3 separate regions of the Homo sapiens genome follow, and all the other regions are linked to region 3. The links are contacts of gene promoters, found by promoter capture Hi-C in blood cells and fetal thymus (Javierre and others, 2016). All regions are on one chromosome and are shown on one strand. The core of a region is centred on a gene start or on the middle of the fragment in contact, and the rest is flanking DNA. Distances in the headings are between cores, read along the strand shown.

Evidence for each region. The method cuts DNA at HindIII sites, captures the fragments that hold promoters and counts their contacts. A CHiCAGO score of 5 or more calls a contact.
Region 1: a contact is called between the fragment with the promoter of CEP20 here and the fragment with the promoter of PARN in region 3, in 5 of 17 cell types (neutrophils, naive CD8 T cells, non-activated CD4 T cells and 2 more). The highest score is 8.8, in neutrophils.
Region 2: a contact is called between the fragment with the promoter of NDE1 here and the fragment with the promoter of PARN in region 3, in 6 of 17 cell types (activated CD4 T cells, naive CD4 T cells, fetal thymus and 3 more). The highest score is 10.1, in activated CD4 T cells.

The regions. Positions count from the first base shown.
Region 1 is chr16:15,887,199-15,891,219 of GRCh38, reverse strand. CEP20 (centrosomal protein 20) reads left to right here and starts at 2,617. Exons shown (of 5, transcript NM_144600.4): 1 at 2,617-2,662. The coding sequence starts at 2,635. The HindIII fragment of the contact is 7,894 bases long and covers 1-4,021 here.
Region 2 is chr16:15,648,901-15,652,681 of GRCh38, reverse strand. It overlaps NDE1 (nudE neurodevelopment protein 1), which reads right to left and starts at 2,437. Exons shown (of 9, transcript NM_017668.3): 1 at 2,388-2,437. RefSeq lists enhancers at 1,735-2,234, 2,235-2,736. The HindIII fragment of the contact is 10,572 bases long and covers 1-3,781 here.
Region 3 is chr16:14,628,852-14,632,883 of GRCh38, reverse strand. It overlaps PARN (poly(A)-specific ribonuclease), which reads left to right and starts at 2,624. Exons shown (of 24, transcript NM_002582.4): 1 at 2,624-2,777; 2 at 3,210-3,287. The coding sequence starts at 2,759. RefSeq lists enhancers at 1-488, 2,088-2,610, 2,611-3,132, 3,133-3,656. The HindIII fragment of the contact is 4,468 bases long and covers 238-4,032 here.

The sequences.
Region 1 (4,021 bases), core at 1,368-3,867, 1.3 Mb before region 3:
GCCCTCCTCGGCCTCCCAAAGTGCTGGGATTACAAGCGTGAGCCACCGTGCCTGGCTGTTTGCTCTTTTGTTTTGTTTTGTTTTGTTTTGAGTCGGAGTCTTACTCTGTTCCCCAGGCTGGAGTGCAACCTCTGCACCCCTGGCTCACTGCAACCTCTGCCTCCTGGGTTCAAGCAATTTTCCTGCCTCAGCCTCCCGAATAGCTGGGATTACAGGCCTCTGCCACCACGCCCGGCTAATTTTTGTATTTTTAGTAGAGATGGGGTTTCACTGTGTTGGCCAGGCTGGTCTCGAATTCCTGACCTTGTGATCTGCCTGCCTCAGGCCTCCCAAAGTGCTGGGATTACAAGCGTGAACCACCGCACCCGGCCTTGTTTGCTCGTTTTTAAAGACAGGTTCTCCCTATGCTGCCCAGGCTGTTCCCCCTCCCTTTAAAAAAAATAGTTAACAATTATTGATTGTATATTTCAAAATAGCTAGAATACTTGTAATGCTTCCAACACAAAGAATGTTTGAGGTGATGTTTATCCCAATTGCCTTGACTTGATAATTACACATTGTATATGTGTATCAAAATATCACGTCCCTCCCCATAATTGTGATATATCAATTTTTCTTTCTCTCTTTTTCTTTTCTTTTTTTTTTTTTTTTTTTTTTTTTTTTGAGAAAGGGACTCACTCTGTCGCCCAGAGTGGAGTGCAGTGGTACAATCAGCCGTCCAGGCTCAAGTGATCCTCTCTCCTCAGCCTCTCGAGTAGCTGGCATGCACCATCATATCTGGCTAATTTTTTTTTTTTTTTGTAGAAATGCGTCTCATGTTGCCCAGCTTGGTCTAGAACTCCTGAGCTCAAGCAATCCTCTATCCTCGGCCTCTGGAGTAACTGGGACTACAGGCATGCACCACCATGCCCGGCTAATTTTTTGTATTTATTTTGGAGAGATGGGGTCTTGCATTGCCCAGGCTGATCTCAAACTCCCGAGCTTAAGCAATCCTCCCTCCTCGTCCTCCCAAAGTGCTGGGATTACAGGGATGAGCCACCGCACCTGGCCAATGTATCAGTTTTAAAAACAATAGGCATGGAACCAAAAGTATGCTGGAAGTTCCTCGGAAAGAGGTTTCCTTGCTCTTAGGTGGTTTTTTTTTTTTTTTTTTTTTGAGGCGGTGTCTCGCTCTGTCGTCCAGGTTGGAGTGCAGTAGCGCGATCTCATCTCACTGCAACCTCTGCCTCCCAGGTTCAAGCGATTCTTGTGCCTCAGCCTCCCAAGTAGCTGGGATTACAGGCTCCTGCTACCACGCCCGGCTAATTTTTGTACTTTTTTTTTAGTACAGAGGGGGTTTCACCAGGCTGGCCAGGCTGTTCTCGAACTCCTTACCTCAGTCTCCCAAAGTGCTGGGATTCCAGGCGTAAACCACCGTGCCCTGGCAGCTCTTAGGTGTACTTTTTTTTTTTTTTTTTTGAGACGGAGTCTCACTCTGTCGCCCAGGCTGGAGTGCAGTGGTGCCATCTCGGCTCACTGCAAGCTCCACCTCCCGGGTTCACGCCATTCTCCTGCCTCAGCCTCCCGAGTAGCTGGGAGTACAGGCGCCCGCCAGCACGCCCGGCTAATTTTTTGTATTTTTAGTAGAGACAGGGTTTCACCGTGTTAGCCAGGATGGTCTCGATCTCCTGACCTCGGGATCCGCCCGCCTCGGCCTCCCAAAGTGCTGGGATTACAGGCGTGAGCCACCGCGCCCGGCCACTCTTAGGTGTACGTCTAATCGATGTTTATTATTTAGCCAAGTGTTTGGATCTCACCGGCATTACAACTGGAATCATGCAACCTCACACTCAGTTTAGGGTACATTATTCCCCTGTTCCTTTTCCTTTACTTCCATGGGATGTTGGAGCTTATTCCTTCATTAGTTAGTTCCATAAAAAGCTCCTGGACTCCTTACATGCACTGTGTAAGTGCGAGTGGAAGAGGACAGGCTGGTGACCTTGGTTAAGTCTCTTCAGCGATGGAGGACTCTGTTTCCTTCATTGTAAAAACGGCGTGATCATAAGGAAATAATGCGCTAAGGCGTCACAGTAAGTGCTTAATACAGTGGTTCTCGAGGTGTGATCTCCAGACCGACCAGCAGTACCAGTACCACCTGGGAACTCGATAGAAATGCAAATCCTAGGGCCTCACCCCAGATTTACAGAATCAGAAACTCTATGGGGAGGACTAGCAAACAATCCGTTTAAACAAGTCTTGGAGGTGATGAGGATTCATGCTCAAGTTTGAGAACCGCAGGGTTAATAGGTGGTAACTACTAGCAGTTGGTACTTGAGGCTGCAGAGACAATGAAAAACTCAGCTGGCTAAAGTTAAGCACTAAGGTGCCAGCAGCACCCCACAGGGCTCTCCACTGCCTCAGTCCCCGCCCTCCCTGCCGTCTCACTCAACTGGGCCTTCCGAGAGCGCTCGCTGATTGGTGGAGTCTCTGGTCGACATTCACTACCCACTCAACCGCAGAGCTCATAAACTGAGAGGGGCGGAAGTGGGCGGGGCGAGAGCTGTGCGCCTATTGGCTACAGACCACGCCGCAGGGTGAGTGGGGCGGAGCTGCGCGTGCGCAGGGCCGCGGTGCGGCCCTGGCGGCCGTTGAAAAATGGCGACTGTGGCAGAGTTGAAGGCTGGTGAGTGCGAGCAGGGAGGCCTCCACATGGGAAGCGTCGGGCCTTCATCTTGTGGAAAGGATGGGATGGGAGGAGAGCGCGCGGAACACATGGGTTGGCTTTTACAGGCGTCATTCTTCGGTGTGAGGGCCTGCGGGGAGCGTCTGGCTGCTGTCTTGGCCCGTGCGCGGGGAGCTCTTATGGGGAAGAGGTTGCCCACTGGCGAGTTTTAAGCCAGTTTGGAGCTAAAGGAGGAGTTGCGTAATCTTCAGGCATCTAAGAGGCCTACAGGCCTGCATCTTGGGCCCCTGGCTCATCTTCTTGGACCCTGCCGGGGGCTGGAGGACTTGGACCAGGCTTGGCACTCAGGGCTGATGACTACAATTCCCACAACCCCTATTGGGTTAGGCACTGCCCTAAACAATTTGCTTGGTTGTCTCGTTGGGTCCTTACAACAACCTGTTAAGTAGCCCTCCCCTCCTTGCTTTTTTTTTTTTTTTTTAAAGAGAGGGTCTCTCTGTCGCCCAGGCTGGAGTGCAGTAGCGCGATCACAGCTCACTGCAGCTTCGAACTCCGGGACTCCAGCTATCCTCCCACCTCAGCTTCCAGAGCAGGTGGGAATACAGGGGCTCTTCACTACGCCCGGCTAATTTTTGTATTTTTTGTAGACACGGGGTCTTACTGTCGAACTCCTGGTCTCAAGCTATCCTCCTGCCTTGGCCCCCTCAAAGTGCTGGGATTACAGGTGTGAGCGCCTGGCCCCTTTTTCATCAGAAGAAACTAGAGGCAAAAAGTTTGCTGGCCTGGCCATTCTCCTGTCTTTTCAGGAAAAGATACTCTAAGCTAGTTATGTTTGAGTCATTAATGACATTTGTACGCTGTTTACTTTGAAGCAAATGTCCAGACAAGTAATAGTAATAATAGTTATCATTGAGCCTCATGTGTCAGGCACTACTCAACTCAGCCTGTGTGTTACCTGATTGTAACAACCCTATGCCCATTTCATAGACTGGGAAACGAGGTACTGAGAAGTGAAATAGCTCAAAGTGATTTCACTGGAAAGAGACACAGCATGGGAACCTAGTTGTGACGCACTGGAGCGCCAGGTCTTAATCACTGAGCAAGATTGCTGTCCAAAAAATAAAACCAGTTCCACTTTGCAGGGAACCCAGGGTTTAAACTAGTAATTCTTAGATATTTTAGGGAGGAGACGTGTATAAAAGTGTGTATTTGGGGACAGGGCTGGTGAACAATCATAAAACAGAACAGGCATGCATCTGTCCACAAGAACAGACTTCACGAGTCTACAGATGCTGTTCCCAGGGAAATACACATCACATGTAATATTGCATACATTTTCAGAGGATTTAAAGGTACACT
Region 2 (3,781 bases), core at 1,188-3,687, 1.0 Mb before region 3:
AAAAAACAAACAAACAAAAACTTGGACAAAAAGTAAAATAGCTATTGTTCCAGGATAATTTTATTCTACTGAACCAAGTGACAGGGAAAGAATTTTTCCTACTGTGGTTTTGCCTCCTCCAACCCTTTTCAAACATTTCTTGAATACCTACTAAGTGCTGGGCACTGCTGAAGGAGGCAGACAAAAAGCACCCACATCCATTGCACGAGGTGCACGTGTAGTACTAACTGCAGGCACAAACTTTCTGTACACAGGAATGCTCATGTTAGGAAATTACCTTGTGAGGAAAAGGAGTGTCAATTCTCGGCTCACATTCTAAGGCAAAAGAACACACTTTGGGCTGCATGCAGTGGCTCATGCCTGCAAGTAATCTCAGCACTGTGGGAGGCCAAGGCAGGAGGACTGCTTGAGCCCAGGAATTTGAGACCAGCCTGGGCAACAAAGCAAGATTCTGCCTCTACATAAAAAATAATAATAATGATAGAGTCGGGTGCAGTGGCTCATGCCTGTAATCCCAACACTTTGGGAGGCTGAGGTGGGCAGATCACGAGGTCAGAAGTTTGAGACCAGCCTGGCCAATATGGTGAAACCCCATCTCTACTAAGAATTAGCCGGGCATGGTGGCACGCACCTGTAATCCCAGCTACTCAGGAGGGTGAGGCAGAAGAATCACTTGAACCCGGAGGACTGAGGTTGCAGTGAGTCGAGATCATGCCACTGCACTCCAGCCTGGACAAGAACAAGACTCCGTCTCAAAATAAATAAATAAATAAATAATAAATAACACACTTTGGAAACAAAAATAAGTCAAGTTAATAAACTGTTATCCAACATGGGATAAAATATATGAATCACAGGCCCCTGAGACTTCAGCGGCACAGATCATCTGCATTTAATCCTACACAAAACACACACTAAGAGGAAAGGCTCAAAATGGGTTGTAGGCCGGCACGGTGGCTCACGCCTGTAATCCCAGCACTTTGGGAGGCCGAGGGGGCAGATCACGAGGTCAGGAAATCGAGACCATCCTGGCTAACACGGTGAAACCCCATCTCTACTAAAAATACAAAAAATTAGCCAGGCGTGGTGGCACGCACCTGTAGTCCCAGCTACTCCGGAGGCTGAGGCAGGAGAATCGCTTGAACCCGGGAAGCGGAGGTTGCAGTGAGCCAAAATCGCACCACTGCACTCCAACCTGGGCGAGAGTGAGACTCTGTCTCAAAAACAAAAACAAAAAAAAAAAAAAAAAAACGGGTTGTATACCAACGAGGTGATGGAGGCTGGGGTGGTCGGGTAACAAGAGGCTTTAGGAGTAGCTGGGATCTAATTAATCTTCAAAACACCCGACCCATGTCCTAAAATGCCATCCTATGCTAGAATACACTATAACAAAACTAAAAATGATGAACCTGCCTAGGTCGTGCTGCAAAGGCCTTTTCTTTAGAAAGTTAAAAGGGGCCTGAGGCTCAAAGTAGAAATTAAGAGGCACAACCTGGTAGTAACCACGGACAAAGCAATCAAGGAAGCTCAGGCCCTCAGGAGGCAGAAAGCCTGAGATGGCTCGGAGAAGATAAAGTCGCCTCCCCAAAAGCGGTGTCAAGGTGACAGCGGGGTTTCCCAGGACCTCAGAGACTCAGGTCCTCAGTGAGCCCAGCCATCACTCAAGCTGCGGAATAAGCATTTTCGTCCTTTACCCAATCCCTCCCCAAAGTGCTGTCAGAAGAAACCTGAACCGTCCTGCGGCAGAGACGGGAGCAAAGCGGAGAGCAGACTGCCCCAAACGTGTTCCCGGAGGGAGGGAGCAGGGTGGGTTTTTGGAAAGAGGCCTGCAGGGGCGGGACAGTGGGTGTGAGGGCAGGGGCAACGCTGCAATCGAGGGGTCTGGGGTCGCAGAGAAGCGGGTGGCAGGATGGAGGAATAGGAGAGAGAGAGAAAAGAAACGAGGGTCATCTAGGAGAGGAGTATGGGGAGGAAGGAAGAGGAGAAAGAGGATGGAGCCTGGCAGCGGGGTTTGGGGACCGGCAAGGCTTAACCACCCAGGAAGTCCCGGAAGGAGAAGAGGGCAACGGGGTGGGAGAGAGACCAACGCAGAAAGAGAAACAAAGTTGCCAAGGGCGAGGGGCCAGCGCGAGGAACGCACCGGTGGCAAGGCACTCAGTGCCTAACTTTTTAGGACGGGAGGCTCCAGGGAGGCGGGATTTTGGAGCCCAGGGACCGGGGGAGTCCAGGCGGCCGGGAAGCGACGCGCAAGCGAGGGGCGTAGGGGTCCCTGCCAGGCGGTGGCCCGGGGTCCCGGGATCCTGGGGCGGGGCAGAGGAGCTTTTCAGCCGCGGTGGAGGTCCCCGGACAGCCACCCCGACCCCAGCCCCGCGCAGCGCCTCACTTACCCGAGCAGGGGCGGCGAGGCCAACGCGGCGGCGGCGGCAGAGGCGGCTGCGAAGGGCGGTGCGGCCCCGGCCCTCCGGACCCCGCCCCCGCCCCGGAGCCTGCGGTCGGCGCCTCCCATTGGCTGCTGCTCTACGGTACCGCGTCCGCCTCGGCCAATCAGCGCAGAGCAGCGTCGTTTGGAAACTTTTTTCCCAGGCCGGGCGCGGCGCGGCCAAGCGGCGAAGGCTCCTGGCCGGAGGGGGTTTGAGAGGCGCCGGCTGCCGGGCGCTGGGCTGCGGCGGGCTGGCGGGCATTGGAGATGCTGCAGAACGCTGCCTGGACACCCGGGAAACGGGTTTGGGCTTGCGGGCCGCGCATTTCAGGAAAATACGCCGGCCTCTCCTTCACTTCGATTGCATTTTCCCATTCTTGCACTTTCTCCAAATCAGAAGGAAAGACAAAGATTCAGGCCCACTGAAGCTAGCAGTGCCCCGTGCCCTTCCTACTCCTTTACACCAAAAGTAGAATCTTCAGCATCATTATCTTCTCCAGAAGCAGGAGAACGTAGTGCACCAGAATTTGGTCATAAACTTGGCTTTGAGTCCTAGTCCTGCCCCTTACTAACTGTGTGGTCTTGGGAAAGTTGTTTAGCCTCTATGACTCCGTTTCCCCATCTATAAAACGCCATTATGGGTCTGGCGCGGTGGTCACGCCTGTAATCCCAGCACTTTGGGAGGCCAAGGCGGGTGGATCACGAGGTCAGGAGTTCAAGACCAGCCTGGCACATGGTGAAACCCCGTCTCTACTAAAGATACAAAAAATTAGCCGGATGTGGTGGCACGCACCTGTAATCCCAGCTACTCAGGAGGCTGAGGCAGGAGAATCACGGGAAACCGGGAGGTGGCGGTTGCAGTGAGCCGAGATCACACCACTGCACTCTAGCCTAGGCGACAGGGCAAGACTCCGTCTTAAAGAACAGACAAACAAACAAACGACATTATGCAGAGGACTAAATGACTTAACAGCATTTGTAAAAACGTTTAGAACAGAAATTTGAACTTAGTAAGTACAATATATGTATTTGTTAAATGATCTTGATTTTGTTTATTTATTTATTTTGAGATGAAATCTCCCTCTGTCTCCCAGGCTGGAATGCAGTGGCGTGATCTCCACTCACTGCAACCTCTGCCTTCTGAGTTCAAGCAATTCTCCTGCTTCAGCCTCCCGAGTAGCTGGGATCACAGGCCCGCATCACCACACCCGGCTAATTTTTATATTTTTAGTAGAGACGGGGTTTCACCATGTTGGCCAGGCTGCTCTCGAATCCCTGTCCTCAGGTGATCCACCCACCTCGGCCTCCCAAAGTCCTGGGATTACAGGCGTGAGCCACCACACACTGCCTGAAGATCGTGAT
Region 3 (4,032 bases), core at 1,375-3,874:
GAGGAGAGGCCGCTCTCCTTTCACAACCCCCCTCAACCCCGCGACCTCCCCGCTGCCTAGAGCGGCCACTCCCAGCCGGAGGAAGTGGGCGCATGCGTAATACCGCCGGTCCCGCCCCTTCCTCTTCACCCAGAGACCGAGTACCCGGGCTCGGCAGTCACAGCCCAAGGGGTGACGGGTGTGTGTCAGTTTCCGCTCCTCCTGGGCGGCTGTTCTTGTATCCGGAGGATACAAGCTTTGCCTAGAAATTAAAATATTACAAGGCCGCACCGTACTCTCTACAGTTATTTTTTGCCTTCACATTTTATGTAGAAAATCACAGGACTATACGTTCAATTTACGGTGTTAAGAATCGGAATTAAATGACTTTTATTTCTATTAAAATATTTTTTTTTTCGTAGAGATGGGGTCTCGCTGCGTTTTCCAGGCTGATCTTGAACATATGGCGTCAAGGGATCCTCCTGCCTCAGCCTTACAAAGTGCTGCGATTACAGGCGTGAGCCACCTCGTACAGCTTGAAATGGTTTTCTTATCACCACGTTTCGCCCCTTCCCAGCGTCTAGGTCACAGCGTCTAGAACTTATGCTGATTATTTGGTTTTGTTTTGTTGTTGTTGTTTGTTTTTGAGACAGAGTCTCACTCTCACCCGCCAGGCTGGCGTACAGTGGCACGATCTTGGCTCACTGCAACCTCCGCCTCCCGGGTTCAAGCGATTATCCCACCTCAGCCTCGTGAATAGTTGGGACTACGGGCGTGCACAACCACGCCTGGCTCATTTTAAAATTTCATTTTATTTTTATGGAGACAGGGTCTCGCTCTTTTCCCCAGGCTGGTCTGGAACTCCTGGGTTCAGGCGATTCTCCTGCCTCAGCCCCCGAAAACGCTGGGATTACAGGTGTGAGTCATGGCGCCAGGCCCCCATTAAACAGTTATTTATACAGATTTATTAATACGCTGCTTCCCAGTTCACATTCATTAGCACCACTGAGCCTCAATACAATCCCAGGAAATTGAGGTTTAGGAAGGTTTAATGCATTCCAGAACTAATAAGTGGCTGAGATAGATTTTGAAAATAGGTCTTCTAATCAACTTTCCTTTTGTTCGTTTGTTTGTTTTGGAGACGGAGTCTCGCTCTGTCGCCCAGGTTGGAGTGCAGTGGCACAATCTTGGCTCACTGCAACCTCCGCCTCCCGGGTTCAAGCAGTTCTCCTGCCTCAGCCTCCCGAGTAGCTGGGACTACAGGGGTGCGCCACCACGCCAGGCTAATTCTTTGTATTTTAGTAGAGATGGGGTTTCACCGTGTTGCCCAGGCTGGTCTCGAGCTCCTGGCCTCAAGCAATCCGCCTGCCTCGGCCTCCCAAAGTGCCAGGATCACAGGCGTGAGCCATCGCATCCGGCACTAACCAACTTTTCATAGTTGGCTTTTGTGAAAGACCAACCTGAATGTATTCATTCAACCCATGCTTATTGAGTGTCTACTACGTGTCAGCCCAGTGCTAGGCATTGGAGAACAGCAACCCCAAACCAACATACAATTCCATTAGGGCCGGGCCTCATATGTTGCACTCGACATAGTATTCCCAGAGGCTAATGCAGTAGCTAAGGGTCTCAGCTTTGCTTTCCGTGATCACCTAAGTAACAACCCCTATTATTCTTTTAATTTAATTTAATTTTTTTTTTGAAAACAAGTCTCGTTCTGTCACCCAGGCTGGAGTGCAGTGGCGTGATCTCGGTTCACAGCAACCTCCGCCTCCCAGGTTCAAGAGATTCTCCTGCCTCAGCTTCCCGAATAGCTGGGATTACAGGCGCGCACCACTGCACCCGGCTAATTTTTTGTATTTTTAATAGAGACAGGGTTTCACCATGTTGGCCAGGCTGCTCTTGAACTTCTGACCTCAGGTAATCCGCCCGCTTCTGCCTCCCAAATCGCTAGGATTACAGGCATGAGTCACCAAGCCCAGCCAATTTTTATATTTTTAGTAGAGACAGGGTTTCACTATGTTGGCCAGGCTGGTCTCGAACTCCTGATCTCGTGATCCGCCCGCCTCGGCCTTCCAAAGTGCTGGGATTACAGGCATAAGCCACCGGGTCCGGCCTAATTTTATTTTTTTAAGAGACAGGTCTCACTATGCTGTCCAGGCTGGTCTCGAACTCTTCAGTTCAACGGATCCTCCCGCCTCGGGTTCCCAAAGTGTTAGGCTTACAGGCGTGAGCCACCGCACCCGGATCCCATTATTCTCTATTACATCGCCCCGCTCTTTTTCTTAATAGCGATTTTCATGTGTTACCAAATGGCAAGTTTCACTCCTGCCTGAATTTCCCCTTACCCCAAGTTTAAGCTACAATGGGGCAGGGAGCACGTCTTCCTGTTCATCACTGTATCTCCACCCCTGTAAGAGTGGCTAGCATATCACAGAAACCCAGTCAGTATTTCCTGGTCGACTGGATGTCGAGACATGCACATTTTTTCTACTGAAGTGAAAGCCCGCACAAATTAGGCCACGCCTTGGGGACTTCGATAGCCACGCCCCTCCCCTGTCCCTATAAGGAGGGAAAGGAGCCCAGCCTTGGCCCCGCCCCCGCCGCCGCGCAGGCGCTGACGCAAGCGCAGCAGGCGCGCGCTGTTTCCGGAAGTCGCGGCCGGCGTCACCGCTGCGGCTGCCTCAGCTACTGCCGCAGTCGCCGCGGAATTCGGCGAGTAGAACCGCTGAGGCGGGCGCGGGCCCGGGTGGGGCCAAGGTTCCGGCCACTCTGCAGAATGGAGATAATCAGGAGCAGTGCGTGTCCGCCGTACACCTCCCCGCCTCCCCACACCCGGCTGCCCCTGGCCTGCTAGGCCGAGACCATGGCCGGCGTGTTTGGCTGGGCCTGGGGCTGAGGCAGCCCCTCAGGGCTTTTCCCTCCTTAAGCCGGTGCGCCTCTTGGGGTCTTTTCCGGCTGCGGACCGTGCACCCTAGGAGCCTTGTACTTACTCCTCCAACCCCGGCACCATCCGGGGCCTTGTCCTTCTCCGGGCCGGGCACCCCCCGGGGCTTGTCCCCCCTGACCCATGCACCCCTCGAGGACTTGATTCCCCTCGCCCCGGTGCACACCTCCGGGACTTTTCCCCTTCCGGCTCTCAGCCTCGGGAGCTCCTCGGCCCTCCTTCCCTCTCCCCTTAGCAGGAATTCAGGCCACTGGTTCTGAGCCTCTTTTCGGTTTCTCCGCAGATTTTAAGAGTAATCTTCACAAAGTGTACCAGGCCATAGAGGAGGCCGACTTCTTCGCCATCGATGGGGAGTTTTCAGGTATCCCTCCCTTGCAAGCTCAGGCTAGCACTTTGCAGTGCATAGCCAAGGCTCCTTCAATCCCCCAGCCCCCAACTTCTTATGCTTGGTGGTGGCCTCTTGCTGTTAGTAGCCTTGGGCGGGTTTCACAGGTCTCAGTGTTACCCTTTAAACGTTTCAAAAGCACGAAAGAAATGAAGATACGCCGTAGGTTTGTGATTGGACTCAGGATCTCAGATAGAGATGATGGTTTTGATGCTGCTTAAAACAGTGCGGCGTGTACATTGCAGAGAGCTTGAGGATTAGGGTCAGACTGTTTTTTTTCTTGATTGTAAAATAGGTATAACATGAAATTTGCCATTTTAAGTGGCTTTACAGTTAAGTGGCATTAAGTACATTCACATTGCTGTGCAAACATCACCATCCATCTCTAGGACTTCTTCATCTTCACAGTCTGAAACTCTTTACACATTAAACTCCCCATTTCTCCTTTCGCCCAGCCTTTAGCAACCGCCATTTGTCTCTGAATTTGACTGCCCTTAACATCTCATATAAGTGGAATCTTACAATATTTGCCCTTTTGTGACCGGCTAGGGTCAGGTTTTTGCAGATAAATGAGATATTTCTTTATGCATTAGTGGACGTGTTCATTGCCTGCCTCAACAGGTGTGTATACAGGAAATACTTCACTGACACTTAAAGTTGCAAATTTTTTTTCCCCTTTTTTAGGGGGAGCAAAGACTAGTTTTTAAATTGCTGATGTCAA